Regions from separate parts of the Homo sapiens genome. Here all the other regions are linked to region 2. Evidence: promoter capture Hi-C in 16 types of primary human blood cells and fetal thymus (Javierre and others, 2016). All regions are on one chromosome and are shown on one strand. Each heading gives the region's core, a stretch centred on a gene start or on the middle of the fragment in contact. The rest is flanking DNA. Distances are from core to core; before and after follow the strand shown. Region 1 overlaps MX1 (MX dynamin like GTPase 1). Region 2 holds the start of BACE2 (beta-secretase 2). Region 3 overlaps MX1 (MX dynamin like GTPase 1).

Region 1 (3,039 bases), core at 503-3,002, 260 kb before region 2:
TGGCGCAATCTTGGCTCACTGCAACCTCCACCTCCCGGGTTCAAGCGATTATCCTGCCTCAGGCTCCCAAGTAGCTGGGACTACAGGTGCACGCCACCAGACCCGGCTAATTTTTTGTATTTATTTAGTAGAGATGGGGTCTCACAGTGTTAGCCAGGATGGTCTCAATTTCCTGACCTCGTAATCTGCCCACCTCTTTTGTCAGGTAGGATTGGGATGGTTATAAAAGGTAATCCATTGTAAACGGTACTTATGGAGTCTGACAATCTGGGAATTTATTCCCTAAAACTCCCATGCCTTTGGAAATACCTCATGTGCCCAGGGCATCCCAGGCTCGATATCAAAGACCACCACTTCATCTGCCTCTCAGGAGTACCAGTCTTCTGGGCTATGGTTGCCTCAGTTGGCCTTTCTGCAGCCAGATAAGGAGCATCATTGAGACCAGGACTTGTACCACATGACCACAGGTTCCACTCAATCAGCTGAAACAGGACTTGGTGAGTAGATTCCCTTCCCTAATTTGCTTCATAAAATGAGATTCTCTGAAAGCTAAACCTTATGGGTTTTGTCTGTAAACCATAAACGTTTGTACCTTTCCCTGATCATTCGGAACATCAGTTTGGATTTCAGGGGCAGGGCAATCTCGGGAGTTCAAACCGGTTTCTTACTCCTCCATGGAACTTGGCATCCAGCTGCAGTCTTCAAACTGAACTGAGTGCAGGCACCAGTTCCGGCCTTGGAAGAGCCAAGAGGTGGCGACTCCTAGCTCTCCATCCCAAATTGCTCCTAAAATGTCTTGGCTGCACCCTGTGTTTGGAGAGGAGGCTGCAGGGTTCCAGCCCTCCATCCACTCGCTACTGCACAGCCCCACTGGTCAGAGCCTGAGATGTTAGGTGGGCATGGATGGGGTTATGCACCAGGCTCTTCTCACATCCTGAGCAACTGCCCCTGTGCAGGGGCTTCCTTCCGTCCCTGCCCAGGGCAGGTTTGTGCCCATGATATATAATAATGACTTGTGACCCTAATGTCTCAAAATGGAGGCACTCACTAGGTAGCATTAAGCCCATATTAAGTTTCTTTCTTTAGAAACAATAAACATACGTGTTTCTCACTTTCGCTCATAGTAAAGGGGTTTTTCTTCAAAGTGGTAAGCATGTGTGTGGTAGACTAAGGGGATGAGGGAACACTTGCTGTGGCCCAATGCCACCAGAGACCCCAGTGAATAAGGACCCAGTGGCACGCACACCTGTGGAGGATCGCAAAAGCGACAAGGGACTAGCAATGTCTGAAGCGTTTTCGGAATCTTGGCAGTGAGATTTCTGAAAGCTTATTCCTGACTTTGGCAGCTGGGCAGCCGAGGACGAGGTCCCTGGAGGAACAGATTTCCCTCCACCACCCAGCACTAGAGCGGGACTTCTGGACTCCCTGGAGTGGCTGTCAGTGGGCTGGCCTCCAGAGCCTCCACTGTGGGTCCTTACCCTATCACTCCCTTTAATCATTGTACTGTGAATGTCTGCTCAATTGTGTGTGTGAATCTCTCACAATAAATCCTGAATTTGAGAATCACTCATTGCCTGCTGGGTCACCCTGAAACCTTTTGGGAAAGTGAAAGTTAGCGCACAGGTGCAGGAAACCTGGTTAACATAACAACTAAAATGAACCTGACTGGGTGCAGTGGCTCGTGCCTGTAATCCCAGTACTTTGGGAAGCCAAGGCGGGTGGATCATTTGAGGCCAGGAGTTTGAAACCAGCCTGGCCAATATGGTGAAATGCTGTCTCTACTAAACACATACAAATTAGCCAGGTGTGGTGATGTGTGCCTGTAATCCCAGCTACTCAGGAGACTGAGGCACCAGAATCGCTTGAACCTGGGAGGCGGGGGTTGCAGTGAGCTGAGATGGCGCCACTGCACTCCAGCCTGGGCGACAGAGTGAGACCTTGTCTCAAAAAAAAGAAAGAAAGAAAAGAAAGAACCCAACGGCCCACTTCATTTCTGCCTTACCTTGGAATGGTGGCTGGATGGCGGCGTTCTTCACTCCAGATTTCAGGGAGTGGGAGTCTTCCTGTAGCCTCCGACCCAGAACCGATCTCCTCGCAGTGTGGCCACAGAATTCCTGCAGTGAGGGTAAAGGTGGCATCCAGGGTTGTCAGGGGGTTCTCTCCTTGTGGTGAAGCTTCCTCAGCTCAGACCCCATAGAGGAGCAGGGATGGGAGGTAGGATTCAGCCCCCTTCCTCTCCCAAAACTCCTAATAAGGACCACCTACTGCCTACGTTCTAGGAAATGCCTAAGATGGAAGAGGCTACACTTTCCCAACATAATCCAGTCTAGTTTTTTCTTTTTTTATAAGCTTTTAAGTTCTGGGGTACATGTGCAGAACGTGCAGGTTTGTTACATAGGTATACATGTGCCAATTCAGTCTAGTTTTAAAACTAACTCTTGCAGGACTGACATTCACCTTTTCTTCTGAAAGCGTTTTTCCCCCCAAACCCTGCTGGTATTTAAATTTGTTATGAATAAAAGAGAGAACATCTTGCCCTTTAGACCAAATGCACTGCTACCTACCAAAGCCCCTGAGCTGGGTGAGCAGGTGGGCGGCAAGGGCGCGAGGGAGGCGTGTCCACCGTGACACTGGGATTCCTGGCCGGCAACTGCGGTCCAAGGCTGAAAGATGACACAGCCATTTTAGGAGCCCTTTGGGACTGACACCGGTGGTGGAGGTAGAGGCGCGGTTAGCATCACTGGACTCTACTTCCCAGTAACAAACGTGATTTAAAATTTAACCAAATAACTTGGGCCATCCCAATTGCCCAGCTCGGCAGCACCTGCTGTGAGTGTTGGTGGGATGGGAGCGCAGGTCTCAGCTGTGCCCGGGCTCCTTCTGCCACCCCCGGGACTGTCCTGCCTCCCTTCGTCCACCGCACCCACTCCACGATCCCGGCCAACTACGATGGACCCCGAGGGTGCGTCAGCCCCACGCGCCGGGGAGGCCCCAGGCATGGCATCCACTGGGGCGGTGGGGGGGAACAGCGGGCAGGGG
Region 2 (3,060 bases), core at 310-2,809:
GCAGTTTCCTTTTTTAAAAGAATTAGCATGGCATGTCTTTCCTCTTAAAGTCTTGAATAATTTAATGAGAATTATACAAAAGTCATGAGTATGTTCTATTTATGGGGGAATCATAGCTGAATCAAAACCCAAATGACAATGTTAAAAATAAAAATAAACTATCTTCAAATAGTGCATTCAATTGAGCAAAGGACTTCAAATCCCACTTGGATTAGACAGTTTGAAAGTAGGAGGGGGCAGATCAATTGGGATTTTTTTTTTTTTTTTTTCAGATCACTGTGCTTGGGAACATTTGTTTCTTGCTACAAAAAGTGTTAGTAAATGAACATCAGAGTAAGAGAAAAGGAAAGCTGTTTGATTTTATTTTTGTGTTGTAATCGGGATACCACTTGGTCCCCGGACACCTCACTCAGCCCCTGTTTTTTTCCCGGTAGCTGGAATGCTTTTCACACTCTGCACACCCGCGTGTAGATGCATCGCTCCGTGCAGAGGGGCAGGGCCGCCGGATGAGCGAGGACACAGCTGACAAACCAACTCCGAGAAAGGAAAGCGGGCGCAGGGGAGACGCTGCTCCTTCCTCAGAGCAGCAAGCGAGCCACTTCTTAACCGGGTTGCTTTTAGCTGAGCTCATGCATAAATCCTTTTTAAAGGGTACTGCGCCTTTGGAAGCCGGCCACGAGCCTCTTTAGCAATGAGACAGCATGGTGGTGGGGTGGGGGGGGGGCGGGGGGGAGGGAGGGTATGAACACGAGGTGATTTTCCCCATAATAGCCCGTCGCCCAAGGCCCACCGCTCCGTCTCCCGCTGGAAGTAGGTGTCGCCCGCAAGAAGGAAATCACGTTATTGGAGGCGGCAAGTTCCAGGTCTCCTCTCCCGCCCAGCCCCGCGGAGGGGGAGCTCACAAGTTCTGAAACACTCGCGCACACCCCTCAGTGCGCCCCGGGCGGGGGCTGCCGTCCTCCGCGACTCAAGAGCGAGCGCCCCCGCTCCCCGGCCCACCCGAGCCCCTCTGCGTTCCCCGCTCTTCTGTGCGGGGACAGCTGCTGCTTTGGGGGCGACGCTAAGCCGCGTGGAGGCGTCTCTGGACAGCCCCCTCCCTCCAACGAGCCCGAAAAGCCCGCGGCAGCAGCCGGGGGTCCCTACCTTCTGCGGGGGGGTCCCGATCAGCATCTCCAGGTAGTAGCCGCGGCCAGAGTCCCCCTGCAGGTTGTCTACCATGGCCAAGAAGTTGGCGGCGCCCGCGGGGGACGCCAGGGCAGGCTCCAGGGCGAGCGCCAAGCCGTCGGCGTGGCGCTCGGCAGGGGTCCCGGGTCCCGGGGTGGGCGCAACTACGCGGTTCGTGGCCGCGGCCACCCGGAGGGGCAGCGTGAAGGGCGCGGGGGCCAGCTCCGGGGCGGCGCGCAGGAGCCACTGGGCCAGCAGAGGCAGCAGCAGCGCCCGGGCCAGTGCGCCCATGCCCACGGCGGGGCCCGGGGGGCGCGCCCAGCCTAGCCGGTCCCGTCCCGTCCGGCAGCCGCGGCTCAGCGACTCGGCCGGCGCGCGGGGCTGCGGGCAGGGATGGGCGCGCACCGGGACCGGCGGCGGCGGGGAGGACGGGAGGAGGGCCCAGGGGAGGAGGCTCGCGGGAGGGGAGGAGGCTCGCGGGAGGGGAGAAGGCGGAGGCCGGGGAGGCGGGCGCGGAGGCGCAGAGCCGCCCCAGCCCGCGCCGCCAAGTTGGGCAAGTTCTTCTCCGCTGCCCCCTCTGGCGGCCGCGACTGCCCCGCAGCGGCCCAGCCCCTCCCCCGCGGCCAAGGTCACAGCGGGGCTCGGGGGGCGCCGGGGTCCACCTGCGCCTGCCCTCCCCACCCTCGCCGGGCTCAGGCCGCGCCTCTTCCCCGGGAAACTCGAGTCCCGAATTTCCTCGGAAAGCGCCCCAGCGGCCACGGCCAACGGATGTGACGAGGCTCATCTGATACCGGGGGGAAAGTTTCGAGAACCCTTAAAGGGGCAGCGAGGGCCTGAACTAGGGCCCCGGCCCCGCGCGCTTGGGGGTCCGCGGGGGTCTATTCGCCCGGCAGTGGCGGGAGCTTCCGGGGGTGACTCGGAGGTCAGCGAGGAGAGCGGTGGATCGGGAAGGAGCCTGGAGCCTCGCGCGCCTTTCCGAGCCTGCGCCTCCCCTCGCCAAGCTCCTCCGCCTCATTTCAGTCGCCGGGTCTGGCTGCTTTCGAGGCGTTTCCCGTCCGCTGCCCCCGAGCCCCCGCCCTCAGTCCAGCCCGTTCCCCGGCCTCATCCCCCGGCGGCCCCTGGGTGGTTTTAAAGAGGTCTCAGTGGAGGCTGGGAGGGTGGAGGGTGGAAGGAGGCAGAGGAGGATGCGAGAGCTTTGGAGAATTTTCCCTAAAAATCGGGGGAGGTGGGGGGCGTGGCTGCTGCTGGCGCCTGGCCCCAGCCTCATTGCCCCCCCTTACTCCCTCTGTTGCCCACAGCTAGCTGCGAAGCTGGGCTTCACCCCAGCCACCTTCCCCCCACCCCCGCCCCCTTCGCCCCCTCCGCCGCGCCCCTGTCCCTAATGCAGGTCAGATGCTACTGGAACCCGCTGCCTCCCCTGGCACCCAGCCCTCAGGCCACCTAGTAAGTTGCTGTCAGGATCCCAAATCAGGGCCACGAGTCCACCCTGCTGTGATCCCTGCCCTTCTCCCCCACCTCCCCTTCTATCCCCAGCCAGCTCTCTGCGGACTGTCTAATTAATACTCGTTTAGCCATAGACGCCAAGACGCAGAAATGCGTTGAGTAATGCAAGCAACGAGGGTTATTTTATTTTAGATACTAAAGGCAGGGGGGACAATTAGACAAGCTAAAGTCCATCGATTTCTACAGAAACAAGGAATAGAAAATTCTTTGTACCTCCTCCAGCTGAATTATGTTGGCTGTTTTAAAAAACAAACAAGCCCATCTTCAAACAGTGGGGAGTTAGAAGCCAAGCTTCCCCGAATCACTGCAATTTTCAGCTACTTCTACTCAAGATTTGATTTTTATTCCTGTGTTCCCAATTTTAGAATCACGTCTAGCTCTGCAAGGGACCTT
Region 3 (2,836 bases), core at 120-2,619, 280 kb before region 2:
GAGAAGAGGCCATCTGCAAGGCAAGGAGAGAGGCCTTAGAAGGAACCAGCTCCACCAACATCTTGATCTTGGACTTCCAGCCTCCAGAACTGTAAGAAAATAAATTTCTACTGTTTAAGCCCCCCCAAGTCTGTGGTACTTTGTTATGACAGCCAAAGCCAACCGCTACACACAGACACAAGCCAGTTGGTTTATCAATTCATCAGTGGATGGTCATTTGGGTTCAGTGATATAGAAGAGAGCAAACATGGCTTTAGTTGTCACTAGCTCCTTATCCTGACCATCCTCCCCAACTGCCCCACTCTTCTCTGTCTTAAGCCAACGTATCAGGTTTACCACGGTATTGACTCATTGCTATGGTCTACATGTTGGTGTCCCCTAAAAATTCCTATGTTGAAACTTAATCCCCAGTGTGATGGTATCAACAGAGGAGACCTTTAGGAAGGATTGGGTTATGAGCACTCTGCCCGCATAATGGCATTCCAGGCATATCTTGTTTTATTGCACTTCACTGATACCGTATTTTTTACAAATTGAAAGTCTGTGGCAATCCCATGTCAAGCAAATCAGCACCATTTTTTTCCAGTAGCACATGCTCACTTTTTGTTTCTGTACCAGCAATTTTTTAGCAATAAGGTGTTTTAAACTAAGGTACATACATATTTTTTAGGCCTAATGCTATTACATACTTAATAGACTGCAGTAGGGCATAAATGAACTGTTTATGCACCAGGAACCAAGAAGTTTATATGACTTGCATTATTGCAATATTCTTTTTGTCTGGAACTGAACCCACAATATCTCTGAGGTATGCCTGTGGTACCCCTGTAAAAAAGAGGTCCGAGGAAGCTTGTTCGTCCCTTATCCCATGAGAGGACACAGCTAGAAGGTGCCATCTTTGAAGCAGAGAACAAGCTCTCACCAGACACCAAATTTCCTGATTCCTTAAGAATAGATTTCTCACCTCCAGAACAATGAGCAATAAGTTTCTACTGTTTATAAATGACCCAGTCTCAGGTATTCGGTTGTAGCAGCCCAAAAGAAGGGACTAAGACACTCACCTTCTTGAAAATTGTTTTCAATTATTGTACTCCATTTGTGGAACTCGTGTCGGAGTCTGGTAAACAGCCGAATGTCTTCCTCCCCTACAGTTTCCTCTCCTTGCATGAGAGCAGTGATGTCCTGATTAAAGGCATTAACTTTCTGTCAAGAAGAAAAACATCAGTATAAGTGGATAGACTTCAAATCCAAGTGTCAAGGTCATTTGGAGGCCGTGCCTATGTGGAGGGTGGGGAGTCATTCTTTGCTTTCTTATGGGACACTGTGGATCAGGGGAAAGAAGAGGTTTTGGCACTAGAAAATCCTATCCCACCCCTTACTGCCTTAGGGATCTGGGTGATGCTCGTGACAGAGTAGGCACAACGCAGCCTGAGCATCCCTCGCTGCTGACTCCACCCCCACATCTGCACTCCCTGCCCTGCCTCCCTCAGCCCTGTCCACCCTTTGAGTGCTACGGGCCAGATGTCTTTGGATCAGCCTTGGGGGAGTGAAGAAGGAAGTGCATAAGGCCCAGGGTCCCTTTTTTGACCATGACATGTGCTTCTCCAGCTCCATGCAGCTGGCAACACTCACATCTATCAGGAAGAACATTTTTTCATTTTCGTCTTCCGGTATGTCGACACCATACTTTTGTAGCTCCTCTGTTATTCTCTGGTGAGTCTCCTTGATTTGATTTTCTAACAGGGGCAGAGATTTCTGAGGAAAATGGAGAGAAAATAATGGAAATGTGTAAAGATGAACAGAGAATGAAAAGGAGGTCCCGGGCCTCCCTCTGCAGAGGAGTTGTGTGGGCCATTTGACTTCCTGGCTTCCTCTAAAAGGAAGCTTTTCCAGACCCGGGGGAGGTGCAGGGGGGCACACACTGGGGGCACTGTTTTCTGCCCAGGTCTTCCCCCTTCCCCACTCCTGCGACAGCAGCCTCATGAGCAGCACTGTGGCACCCACTGTGCATGGGTCCTAGGCCCCGGCAGAGTGACCCGGGAGCAGTTCCTCTGTGGTCATATTAGGTAAACTCTCTGGAGGGAGACTGGAGAGATCCACTTGTCTAGTAGGTTCTGAAAAAGTGGCATTTGGAGCAATTTGAGATTCAACAACTTTTATGTTGCTTGCAATCAATAAAAAGTGATCAGAGACTTATGTTTTTAACAATACGGTTGACGCCATATGCTGGCTCACCCTTCCACGGCAAACATCTAAAAATGCCAGCTGACATGTGAAAGCTGCACCTTTAAATGTATCGGTGGACTCACAAGTTAGTGAGGGGTAGTCAGAGGCCAGCCCCAGTAACAGTGGCCAGGCAGGGGCTCAAGGAGAAGGCAGCAATGAAGCCCGGCTCAGCCACAAGGGCATCTGTCTAGGTAAGAAAATTCGAACGGGAACTTATGAACCTGACTTGGTGCAGAGGCAAAAAATCAATCCCCATGGGCTTGCTCGAGGTGGGGAATCTAATAAGGAAGCATCCTCTTTCTGCATACAGTGGGACCCCAGAGAGCTCTGCACTCATCATGGTCGGCTGGAAACAACCCTGTTATGCACCCGCATTCCTGGGGACCACGTGGAAGACCTTGCACTCTGGTGCTGAGTTGAAAATTTGAAAAAGGCCAGTCTGGTCAACATGGTGAAACCCTGTCTCTACTAAAAATACAAAAATTAGCCAGGCATGGTGGTGGGCACCTGTAATCCCAGCTACTCAGGAGGCTGAGGTAGGAGAATTGCTTGAACCCAGGAGGCAGAGGTTGCAGTGAGCTGAGATCACACCACTGCACTCCAGCCTGGG

What was found. Contacts are between HindIII fragments. The CHiCAGO score rates a contact against its expected background, and 5 or more counts as called.
Region 1: a fragment that was not itself captured here is called in contact with the fragment with the promoter of BACE2 in region 2 in 1 of 17 cell types (total B cells); the score reaches 5.9 in total B cells.
Region 3: a contact is called between a fragment that was not itself captured here and the fragment with the promoter of BACE2 in region 2, in 2 of 17 cell types (naive B cells and total B cells). The highest score is 5.4, in naive B cells.

The regions. Positions count from the first base shown.
Region 1 is chr21:41,426,830-41,429,868 of GRCh38, reverse strand. It overlaps MX1 (MX dynamin like GTPase 1), which reads right to left. Exons shown (of 17, transcript NM_002462.5): 2 at 2,565-2,663; 3 at 2,003-2,114. Among named protein-coding and RNA genes, the nearest start is that of MX1, 2.1 kb to the right of the region's middle. The HindIII fragment of the contact is 848 bases long and covers 1,329-2,176 here.
Region 2 is chr21:41,166,659-41,169,718 of GRCh38, reverse strand. BACE2 (beta-secretase 2) reads right to left here and starts at 1,559. Exons shown (of 9, transcript NM_012105.5): 1 at 1,144-1,559. The coding sequence starts at 1,455. MIR3197 (microRNA 3197) reads right to left here and starts at 2,162; the gene lies at 2,090-2,162. RefSeq lists a silencer at 1,551-2,000. The HindIII fragment of the contact is 3,467 bases long and covers 1-2,960 here.
Region 3 is chr21:41,444,367-41,447,202 of GRCh38, reverse strand. MX1 (MX dynamin like GTPase 1) reads right to left here. Exons shown (of 17, transcript NM_002462.5): 12 at 1,633-1,755; 13 at 1,062-1,203. Among named protein-coding and RNA genes, the nearest start is that of MX1, 20 kb to the right of the region's middle. The HindIII fragment of the contact is 1,035 bases long and covers 852-1,886 here.